Linked DNA regions of Homo sapiens: region 1 is linked to region 2. Evidence: promoter capture Hi-C in human tissues and cell types (Jung and others, 2019). All regions are on one chromosome and are shown on one strand. Each heading gives the region's core, a stretch centred on a gene start or on the middle of the fragment in contact. The rest is flanking DNA. Distances are from core to core; before and after follow the strand shown. Region 1 overlaps LOC107986195 (a long non-coding RNA gene). Region 2 holds the start of TMEM184C (transmembrane protein 184C).

Region 1 (6,299 bases), core at 1,567-4,066, 1.0 Mb after region 2:
CAGGGCCTATATTTTCAATTCACCAACAGATCATTAGTCACTAAAAGAGGTATAAAGATCAGTCAAAGCAGAGTATTGCATCCTTAATGAGAGAGTGAAGGGTGAGTAGAAATTGATGTCTTCAGGTGTAGATTCTTGTCAACTAGTAAAAAATGCTGAGAAAAGACATCAAGTAACTTACAGGATCACCCACCAGCTCTGACTTGCTAAGGGCTAAAGTAATCCTGGTGATTATTTTTTTCTTCTATCTTGAAGGAATATCAGTCTAGAAGACTCCTTAGTAAACATAAGAATCATCAGAAGTACTGACTTACTCAGCTTAAGCAAAGACTGACAGCAGCACCATTGCTCTTCATCCCCAGCATGGTTCTTGGAAGATCCAATTTATAGAAGATACATACTCAAGGAAATTCCTCAGTAGCCCCAAATGCTTTCTTTCCTTTTTATTTGAGACTGGGACCACTCATCCAAACGTAATAATGGTCTCAGGGTCAGAACATATGGCTTGTTAAGGTATCTTAAGGGAGCTATTATGTCTTCTGTCTGTTCTACTTTTATATGGTCCCTGATCTTTCCAGCAGAGCTAGGTCTTGGATTGGAGCAATGGGATGGAGAACTGTGCAAGGCTGGAGACTCACCACTCTGTTCCTGCATGCATGGGAAAAAATGGCCACCTCTGCCAGCTGGAAGTGGCTTTAGATGTCCTGTGAAGTTTTGGTAGTCTCTAGGCTGGAAATAAAAGAACTTTAAGATATTAGGTCTCAGAGTTTTCTTTTAGATCCATTCTGAACTCTTGGAATCACACTGGAATTCCCATAAAAAGAATGTTATGAGTGAAGTACGTCCACATTTACAGCTTATTTTACATCATACTTTCTTTTCTTGAACCTCAGTTCTCTTTGCTTTTTCAATTTTGATTCCTCTATGTATTTTTTTTTCTATTTTGGCTCCTACTCAAATTTTTCTAACTCTTATGCCCAATAGTTTTCTTTTGATTTCTGGTCTGATTATGTTCATCTGGTATTTAATTTAGCTCCCACTTTGTGAAGTTTGATCTACCAAGGCTACACTTTACTTGGCAAATCCTGGTTTCTATACCCAATTTACTCCTAAGAGGGATAGCTGAAGCCATGGTTTATCTCTGGGCTCTTTCTCTTCCTCCTCCACCCCTCCTTGCATCTTTCTTTTTCCATCTGTGCCAATTTATTAAATTATAATGAGAAATACAAATGTCAAGTTTACTGCAGGGTTTATTTTGTTAGACTTTTTTTTTCCTCCAGAGAAAAGAAAATTTGCTTAGTGAACACAGACTCAGACACAGAGTAGTCAATTATTATTGGATTGTTTCATGGCAGGAAACTAAATAATCCATGCATCTTTGAAGCAGGAAAGTGCTTTCCACCCAGATAATATGCTGGTACGTGGGAATCTCTCTGCCATCTTGGATGGTACTGGTGTTACATGTGTTCTGTGCAGCTTGGGGTACCTCCTTTTCCAGACACAAGGCAGTTTGTATGGCTAAAACTTTGGCTTTTCTCAAAGTTTTGCTTTTTGTCAAACTTTGGTTTTTCTCAAAATCTTTTTTTCTCTGCTTTCCTTTTCTGTTTCTTAAATGATGCATCTTTGTACTTCTCTCTTTTTCCCTCATCTTCCTGTCTCTTGCTGTTCCCCTGGACTCTCTCTTACTGCACTCCAGATGTCTTGCTGTGTACTCCTGATGTTGTACCTTCACCTCTGTCCTCTGCTGCTATTTTCCTCTAGTGGAGGGACTCTTCATTTGACACCAGAAACCAAATCATTGGTGAATATCGACAGATATACTGCAGGATCTATGTTTCTTTAGCATGTCCTGCAAATAGGACCAAGGTACATCAAAGTCTTTTGGATAGCCTCAGCTAATTGCCAGCCACGGTAGTGACCCATAAAAAATACCACATTGAAGCTCTTAATGCATTATTATTTACAGTTTGGGCTATATAATAACATTTAGCTTTAAAAAACTTAACTGTATATCTCACCAGGTGTGGGGTGGAATGAGGGAGGAAGGGACATCTTATGATCTCTATTTAATTTATCTCTCTCAAATTTGCTCTCATCAGCATTTTCCTGTTTTTCTTAGTAAATGAATAAGTAAGTAAGTGGGGAGATCTCAAACATGATAGGAAAATGACTCAAGAAGAATTAAAGATGGATAATCGTATCACTCTCTTTTGATTTCAGATGTCCAAATTCCATGTTTGTTAATTAAAATGAAGGTTATATAAATGAAGAGAAACTAGAATGAAAAATTGGCACAGTAGAGTATTTTTTAAAGAAAACCTTTGTTTGCATTTTTAACAATGTGAATTAACTCCAATTAGCTGTTTACACCATCTTGCCAAGTAGAACTCCTACCACAACTGTTTCAATGAACAACATAGAGTCGTTCGTAAGTAGTCATTTTTCCCCAAAGGGTATTGTGAAAGTGTGCGTTTGTTGGTTGATCATTTCTTTTGCAAGTGACCTTGCTGATTTACTTGAATTCTTGATACTCAAAGCATGTTTTAGACCAGTAGCAGAAGTATCTCAATTAAAGTTGGCAGAAATGCTGAATCTTGGGGCCCACTGCAGAGCTACTGAGTCAGAATCTGAATTTTAATGAGATCTTCTGGTGATTCCTGTGAACATTGAAGTTTGGGAAACATTGACCTAGAAGATCATTTCCCCCAAATTACAACAAAGGTAAACTTTAGTGTATGCCTCATGAATCTTTCTGAAATTCTGAATTAGTGGAGTCAAAATTAATCAAATTGTATTAAATTTTTTTCCCATTTACATATTACATTTCACTAAGTTTATTTCACTCAAATTTTTATCTACTATCTTTTTTTCATAGACTCGAGTTATCCCTTTTAGAGGAAAACATCTATTAAAAGTTGAAATCATACCCAAATCCTCTGTCATTCTATTTAGCAAAGCTGAGCTGTATCCATAAGATTCTACTTGAGAGAGATTTTGACATCTTGGCACTTCCTTTTCTCCAGAGTATTGTATTCTTTCTTTTAATTGGGTAATTTCCTCTAGCCCTCAGTAGACACTTATGTGTCATGTTTTTATTTCCTGAATTAAGAACTTCCAACAGACTTACAGAAGTATCCAGATATATGTTCAGTTGACAATATTTGGAACCTCTGTGATGAGGTAGAAATTTCTTATATATTATGTAAAACACATTCAAAGACGAGTTTCAGCTTTTCAGTCAAATAGGTGTGAATTAATAGAACAGCAGGACAAAATCCTGTTGCTTTTCATGGTATATAGCTTACATTTCTTGTATTCACTTTGTCTTTTATCTTTGTGCTCTAAATAATAGCTTTAAGTAGTTTAAACACATACAAGCCCAAAAATGTAAGGCAAAATAAAAACAGCACAAGTCAAATTTATCTGATATATCTTTAAGAGGACAATTTATTCATCAGTCTGTGAATCCATATTATTTATTTATGTATTTATGTATTTATTTATTTATTTATTTATTTATTTATTTATTTATTTATTTTTGAGACAGGGCCTCTGTGGCCCAGGCTGGAGTGCAGTAGTGTGAACATGGCTTACTACAGCCTCAGCCTTCTGGGCTCAAGCAATCTTTCTGCCTCAGCCTCCCATGTAGCTAGGACTACAGGCATGCACCAACATGCCTGGCTATGTTTTTGATTATTTGTTGAGATGGGGTCTCACTTTGTTGCCCAGGATGTTCTCTAACTCCTGGCCTCAAGTGATCCTCCTGCCTCGGCCTCTCAAAGTGCTGGGATTACAGGCATGAGCCACTGTGCCTGGCCTATGTCATATATTCTCTTTAAATTTACATAATATTGAAGCTATCTGGATGGCATCCTAAATCTTACATATTTATAAATACTGAAGTTCAGGATTGACACCTTATAAAAAGCCTTTTTGGAAATTAATTTTTTTGCAGATGAATCTTCATTTATCATAAAACTAGCATGTAAGCTCTCTGATAGCAGACACTTTTTTTTTTTTTTTGAGATGGAGTCTCGCTCTGTCGCCCACCCTGGAGTGCAGTGGTGCGATCTTGGCTCACTGCAACCTCCATCTCCCAGGTTCAAGTGATCCTCCCACCTCAGCCTCCCGGGTAGCTGGGATTACAGGTGTGTGCCACCATCCCTGGCTAAGTTTTGTATTTTTAGTAGAGATGGGGTTTCACCATGTTGGCCAGGCTGGTCTCGAACTCCTGACTTCAGGTGATCCACCCTCCTCGGCCTCCCATAGTGCTGGGATTATAGGCATGAGCCACCATGCCCGGCTGGCAGACACTTTTTATCTGTTTTGCTCACTGTTGTATCTTCCAGCACCCAGGTCAGTACCCTGCACATGGTATGGATCAATACTTGCTGACTGAATGAATAGATGAATGAGCTTAAAAATGTAAAATCTCTTCAGAATTAAACAGTTGGGATTTATTCTTTATCAGTAGGATTTTGCTAAAAGTGTCTTTGAGTAATAGATTCTCCCTGGAAACAAGGTCTATTTATAATCTTATCTAAACAACTAAATAATAGAAGGCAAGAATAATTGAAATTCTTGAATAGAAATGACCTCAACAATATGCCTAGTTTACCTGTGGCTCATTTATTACGTGGCTTTGACCTGTGATGGTATCACAGTGAAGTGTTTTTTTCTTAAAGAGATCTCCTCTTCTCACTCTTTGATAGGGACCCACCACATTGACTTCTGGTAACAAAGCTGTCACTCAGAGGAATTTTCTTTCTGCCCCCCATCTGTCCTGGCCCTGAAAAGAAGCCTATTTCCCCTCTTAATCTTAACTCTGGTGCCCTTCTCTCTACATTGTTGGCTGGTGCCATGCCTGTCACTAAATTTATCTGATAGGCTCATGATCCTGAACTTCTTCCCTCCCTTTTTCCTATGAGAGCACATAGTCTGTGTTGATTGTGGGTTGTGTAGACAGGCAGATAGGAAACAACAGAACGCTATTTTCCCTTTGGGTGAAGCTTGAGGTCAGGCTCATTCCTGTTTTCTACTATTTCCTCTGTGTGTTTCCCCCAAAACTTGGCCTTCCCATACCTCTGCTGAGTTCTATAGCCTTTAAAAATTAATACAGATTATTTTAGAAATCTATGTTATAATCTTAAAAGCAAAATGTAACTCTGTTTTTTTTCTCTACTGTACTACTAAGTCACAGTTTTCTGGGCATATGATGAGCAACTGCACATTTTTTTTGTGGACTGACCTAAGAACGTTACCACCATGTCTAACTTAATTCCCACAGACAAATACATTATATTCAATTAGCATGATTTGCTAATGAACTTCCATAAGTTCATAAGGTAAGAACTGTAATATATAGAAAAGCATGCTTATAATCCCAAATCATGGAAGTTATGGAGTGGATTTGAGTGAAATATAATCATTCCTTAAGCTATTTTAAAAGTAATCACTCATCTGACCATTAGTAAAGACAAACTATATGGAGCCTTTAATGTAAGTGCTACATTCACAAAGTGGATATGTGGAACAAAAATAGTAGGGTGGCAAGCAGTTGTGGACTTTGTAGTCGGAAGTCCAATTCAGCTGCTTATAAGTTATTACACTCCATCATCAACACAGACTATATTGTCCCATAGGAAAAAGGGAGGGAAGAAGTTGGGAATCATGAGCCTATCAGATAAATTTAGTGACAGGCATGGCGCCAGCCAACGATGTAGAGAGAAGGGCACCAGAGTTAAGATTAAGAGGGGAAATAGGCTTCTTCTCAGGGCTAGGAAGGTGACAGATGGGAGACAGAAAGATATGAACAGGTTATTCTGCCTCTTGGTGTCTCAGTTTTCTCATCTGCAATAAGAGACATAATAATATAATCTACTTTATAGAATTGTTGTAAGAATTAATTAAAATAGTTTATGTAAAATGTAAGCATAGATTACATGATATTCAGGGCTTAATGCATGCTTACATTGATGCTTACATGCATTAAGCCCTGAATATCAGTTTGGATAGTCTCATACATATCAACACTTTGTAAGTTTATCTATTTAAAAATTCAACTGCCTTGGGATTAATCTAAAAATCAACATCATATTAAGGCATGTTGAGACAGCATTTTATATTATGTGTCTGTGAAACTGGGGTATGAGAGTGAGTTGTTTAGCTAGAGAGGGAGCTTATCCTCCCCTAGCATCCATCTCATTGCAATTTGTCCTTTTACCTTTGATGCCTGGTACAACTGAGAGCCCTGGAAAGGAAGCCAGGTGCTTTTGTAGGTGATAGTATTTCCAAAGATG
Region 2 (5,887 bases), core at 977-3,476:
TTTCAGATTTTTTCAGATTGGGGAACATTTGCATTATACATACCAGTTGAGCATCTCAAATCTGAAAATCCAAAATCTGAAGTGTTTCAAGGAGCATTTCCTTTGAGCATCATATAAGTACTCAAAAAGTTTTGGATTTGGGAGCATTCTGAATTTCAGATTTTCAGATTTGGCATACTCAATCTGTAATTTTGTTTTTAATTTCTCTGCTGAGCTGAAGAAATTTCACCATAGAAGAATTCCAGTTCGCAAACTGGTATGTGAAATCATTTGTGCATCTGTCTCATCTCTTCTCTCTTTTGCTTTTTTCTAATGGATTTAGATTTTTGCTTTAGGAATTCAAAATCTAAACAAGACAAATAAGTAAATGAGTATAATACCATATAAATGCTGTAAGAATACATGGGGAAACAAAAATAAAGGAAGGTCTCACAAATTAGGCAAAAAAAGTTTGCCCATGAGAAAGAATGGGAAAGATTATAGGCAGCAAAAACGCTGTAGCTGAAAGCACAGAGACAATCTACGCATACGGCATATCCAAGATAGCCTCTACTGTGTACCAAACAAGTAAAGAGTAGTTATACTTGGCCGTAGAGTAAAATTAACTTTCTCTTCATTATTCTTCTTTTTTATGAACTTTAACAACAGAGCAAGCATTAATTTAATGATCAGGAATTTTTTTTAATTAATTTTATTTATTTATTTATTTATTTATTTTTTGAGACAGAGTCTCGCTCTGTCGCCCAGGCTGGAGTGCAGTGGCTTGATCTCGGCTCACTGCAAGCTCCGCCTCCCGGGTTCACGCCATTCTCCTGCCTCAGCCTCCTGAGTACCTGGGACTACAGGCTCCCGCCACCACAACTGGCTAATTTTTTGTATTTTTGGTAGAGACGGAGTTTCACTGTGTTAGCCAGGATAGTCTCGATTTCCTGACCTCATGATCCGCCCACCTCCGCCTCCCAAACTGCTGGGATTACAGGCATGAGCCCCTGCACCCAGCCTTAATTTCCATTTTTAAAGTAAGCTTAGGAAGAACAAACATAAGGCCTATTTTTCCGGTAGAAAGTAGTTTGGGTCAGGTTGTAAAATACAAATGTTAACAACTGAGAAGTAGGCAGTGAAGTCAAGTCCAAACAGACGATACCAAAAAAGGGGCTCATAATATTCCTTAGGTGTCTCTGTGAGACTCCTGGGCTAGGTGTACTCAATGTTACAAGCCTCCTTATCCGTATGGTCATTAGGCGGAAATTCCCCAGGTGGCAGGTACTAGCAGGTCAAATGCTTAAATATAATGCCCTTTGGAGTCACAAAGACCAAGGTTGCTATCTCCACACTACCACTTAACTAGCTCAGTGAGCCTGGGCAAATTTATCAGCCACTTGACTTTTTTATCTGTAAAGTGGAAAAATGCCTACCTCTCAAAATTTTTGTGCAGAACAACTTACATAATGTAGGTAATGAACTTAGTACAGTGCCTGTCCCCCTGAAAATTACAATTACAATATAAAACGCATTTGTATATGTAATTGAGTAGTAGATATTTGTTTACTCTATTGGTTTAGCTAAAGGCTTTAAGCATATGAAACTCCTTTGTCAGATGGAATGTCAACTTTTTAAAACTTAAATGAGTGCAAATTTTTAACACAAGTTCCAAATGTAGAAGGGACATTCCCTATTTGCGGTTAATTCTAAAATGAAGCTACCTTTAGAATGATCCTTCTGTAGGATCCAGAAATAACCAAGCGGCCTAGCCCCTAGATTCTAGCAACTGACAGAAAACTAGGTGGAGGTTTCCCATTCTTCCTTGTCTTCTTACTCCAGCGGGCTTCTGTATCCACTCTAGATTGAATAGGGGATGTTTTGTGTAGAGATGGGCCTTCTCTCTTCCAGTCCAACTCTGAAGTAACCGCCCCTTACCCAAGCTTTCTTTAAACTGGAATAACGCCAGCAGAAGAATGTAGTAGGTGTGCTTCAAGTGTCCTCAAATAATTCCCGCAGCTTCCAGAATCCTTGCAATAGCCCGCTGGACCATCTGCGGCAATTCCACCCACTTCCACGCACCTGCTCTTCTTTCTAACCCCAGTACGCAATCCTGCAGCCCCGCCCCCACAGCTGACCAATCAGAGGGCGCAAAGTGAGTCGGATGGGGCGGGCCCAGTTTGGCGCTGACGACGAATCACCTGCCTCAGACAGCAGGGGCGGAAGCGGAAAAGAGCTGAAAGTCTTGGTTTGGCCTTGGGTTCCGCTGTAGGGGAGGTCCCGTGCGAAAGAATGAGGAGATCCTGGGGCCTTACCTACTAGCGGAATCGACTGAAGAGACGCCTGCCAGTGCGGGAGGTAGGAAGCTCGATCCCCAAAGAAAAGAGCGAGTGGGCAGGCAGCTGCGAGACAGAACCGGAGTGTGCAGGGTCCCTAGAGGCCGGTTCCTGGTCTGTGCTGCTCTCCTGGAAGCCATGGTACAGGCAGAGCTCAGGGCGATCCCCAGGTGAGGGCAGCGGCTCTGCCTGGGATTCCACCGCAGTACAACCGGGTAGATGCGGGGTGGAGAAGAAAGGATGTTGCCTGCACTGCTCGCCAATAGCACCCTGAGAGGCTACATTTGCAGAAGCAGCAGCAGCAGAAGACACAGCGCCGGTCCAGGAGGCGGCTCGAGCTGTTCGTAAAGTCGCCCGACAGCTTTTTCTCCGTAGTATGCGAGTTGACAAAACAGCCAGAGAACAGGGCTCCCCATTACAATCTTTTCGAGATCTTTTCCCTTGCTAACCGGATCTGATTTGTGCGAAAACATGCCTTGCACTTGTACCTGGAGGAACTGGAGACAGTGGATTCGACCTTTAGTAGCGGTCATCTACCTGGTGTCAATAGTGGTTGCGGTTCCCCTATGCGTGTGGGAATTACAGAAACTGGAGGTAAGAGGGTTCTGCACCATCAGCCTGTACACTTTCTTCTACCCATCTATGGTTGGGAAAGAGACACCCTTACCCCATTTCTGCCCTGACAGTCCTGAAAACCATCTAATGTAAACGAGCCTACTCTTAGGATATAAACCTGTCTAATTTCTTGTTCACGGTTCTTCAAGTCATGCTACAGGTGGAGGTGGGACCGGGTCGAGAAAATAGAATATATTAATATAGCTGCTTAGAAGGGCACTGTTTTGCAAGTATTCATCAGTTCCCTGAAAGTAAGGTAATTTTATTGCTGAAATCTGATCTGTTCAGACATTGGACGAAACTAGGTCAAATAAACTACCTTGAAAACCATGTATTGAATTTTATTAGCTTTTAACTAGCTTCTTGAATCAAAGCGTTCTAGTTGTTTTAACTTTGGTGTCTGTTTTTACTGTGGAAATTAGCTCTTACCCAACAAAGGTTTTGCAAAAAGTCCCTTATATATATTTTTTGATGTCATATGCTTATTGTGACATCAGTAATGTACTACAAGCTGGAAAACCCCAAGGTAAATAACTCAGATATAAATATTATATAATGAACTTTAAATTCGGAGTTAATAAAACCCACCAAGTACTTTTACAGAGGAACACCTATTACAAGAACTATAATAAGACCATGACTATTTTAGGCCCTTCTTTATTGTGGAAATGATTTTTACATAAACTGTATTTAATATACATTTGTGTTCTCTATTTACACTAAATTATTTTCTGATGACTTTCCCATACTAGCATAGTCCATATAGTTTTTTGTTTGTTTGTTTATGAGACGGAGTTTTGCTCCTGTTGCCCAGGCTGGAGTGCAATGGCGAGATCTCGGCTCACCGCAACCTCCGCCTCCTGGGTTCAAGCGATTCTCCTGCCTCAGCCTCCCGAGTAGCTGAGATTACAGGCATGCGCCATCACGCCCGGCTAATTTTGTATTTTTAGTAGCGACGGGGTTTCTCCATGTTGGTCGGGCTGGTCTCAAACTCCTGACCTCAGGTGATCTGTCCTCGGCCTCCCAGAGTGCTGGGATTACAGGTGTGAGCCACCGCACCCAGCCCCATATACTTACTTGTTGTTGTTGTTGTTTATTTTTATTTATTTATTTTTGAGAAAGAGTCTAGCTCTGTCGCCCTGGCTGGAGTGCAGTGGCGCGATCTTGGCTCACTGCAACCTCTGCCTCCCAGGTTCAAGCGATTCTCCTGCCTCAGCCTCCCAAGTAGCTGGGATTACAGGTGCCCACCACCACACCCAACTAATTTTTGTATTTTTAGTACAGACGGGGTTTCACGGTGTTGGCCAGGCTGGTCTCAACTCCTGACCTTGTGATCCACCCACCTCGGCTTCCCAAAGTGCTGGGATTACAAGCATGAGCCACCGCACCCGGCCCATATAGTTATTTTTAATGGCCATGTAATATTCTGCTACATTCAATATTTCCCATTTGTTAGATATTTAGGTTCTTTCCACAATTTGTCTACAAAAACTTAGGTATAAGCATCTTAATACAAATGGGATTTTCTTACTTTGAAATATTTCCGTGGAGTATAGTATAGGAACCACTTTAAAGGTTAATAATATGCATAATATCAGTCCAGTTTAAGACTTCTCTTAGTTGTTAGTTTCAAATGTAGTTTTTAGGTACCACTAGCTTTTAAGAAAAATTGGAATCTGTAGTCTGTACTTGTCCTAGCCAAGTTCCCAACATGTCTTGCTTGGACTCTTCTCAACACACCAGCCAGAGTAACCAGTTAAAACTTGGCACATTATGTGTGTCATCTTAAATCACTTCTAGTCCTAGAGTAAAGGCCAGTATTCCTCACTGTGGCCATCAAGGTCCAACATGATCTGACACCACTCCCACCTGATCCCCCTCTGACTTTTTCTCCTCAAGTCCTAGGCTTCCACTGCACGGCTTTGCTCAAAAATCCCAGGCATGCTCCCTCCTTGAAACTTTGCACGATGTTTCCCCTTCACAGAATTTCCTTTCCGTAGATATTATTCTCATTCCTTTATGTTCTTCAGGTCTTTACTCAAATGTCACCTGACTACTCTATTTAACATTGTCAACTTCCCCCCACCCCAACTCTTCATATTCCTTTCTCTGCTTTACTTTTTCCATAGGACTTACCACCATCTACCACGATACATATTTTACTTTGTTTTCTTTCCCCCTCTTTCTGCCCAAATGACTGAGTCCCAGTGATGAATCAGGCTTTGTATACTATATGAGAGAACATTACCTCCATAGAACTTGGTGGAGACAAAAGGGACCAACAAAAACAAATCAATAAAATTGTATAAAATGCTGTGGAGGAAACCAGAAAAGATCTGAGAAGTTACCATGCAGGGCAGTCTAATTGCATAACTTCAAAAGACCACTCTACCAGCTATGGAAAATAAAGCAGAAGTGAAGGGAAGTTAGAAAGCTCTTTATGGTAGTGAGAGGTGTTGGGTGCCTGGGCTATGATGGTTTATGGCCCCGGTAAGGATAGCAGGAGTGGAAATGGAAAACTGAATTGTAAGTATCCTTAGAAGTGAGCAAACAAGACGTAGCAGGAAGATTGGATTCCAGAGGAGAAGCAGTGAGAGAAAGGAACAAATCAAAGATGATTCTGAAGTTTTTTGTTTGAACAACTGTGTAAATGGTGGTGCTAGTTACTGAGATAGAAAATTGAGGGTTAGGAACAGGTTTGAGAGAAATTGAGTTCTGTTATGGACATTTAGTTTAATAAGAGACATTCAATAGGCATGTCAGATATGCTGTTGGATATGCACATCTAATGCTCAGAAAGATATGAGCTGCAGATACAAATGTGAGAGTTTATCTTGGTGTCCCCAGGCTGCCGTGAGAAAATACCATAGCCTGAGTGGCTTAAACTACAGAAATTTATTTTCTCACAGTTCTGGAAGCTCATCCCATGCCCATGGTGGGGCATATACCCATTTATT

Evidence for each region. Contacts are between HindIII fragments. The study calls those that stand out against the background at their distance.
Region 1: a fragment that was not itself captured here is called in contact with the fragment with the promoter of TMEM184C in region 2 in 1 of the 25 tissues and cell types used here (heart right ventricle).

The regions. Positions count from the first base shown.
Region 1 is chr4:148,641,013-148,647,311 of GRCh38, forward strand. The region is part of intron 2 of LOC107986195 (a long non-coding RNA gene); the gene reads left to right. The region is part of intron 1 of LOC105377483 (a long non-coding RNA gene); the gene reads right to left. Among named protein-coding and RNA genes, the nearest start is that of NR3C2, 200 kb to the left of the region's middle. The HindIII fragment of the contact is 6,484 bases long and covers 1-6,058 here.
Region 2 is chr4:147,615,171-147,621,057 of GRCh38, forward strand. TMEM184C (transmembrane protein 184C) reads left to right here and starts at 2,227. Exons shown (of 10, transcript NM_018241.3): 1 at 2,227-2,909. The coding sequence starts at 2,787. It overlaps TMEM184C-DT (TMEM184C divergent transcript), which reads right to left and starts at 2,075. Exons shown (of 2, transcript NR_186679.1): 1 at 1,918-2,075. RefSeq lists enhancers at 2,447-2,566, 2,597-2,646. The HindIII fragment of the contact is 7,307 bases long and covers 1,474-5,887 here.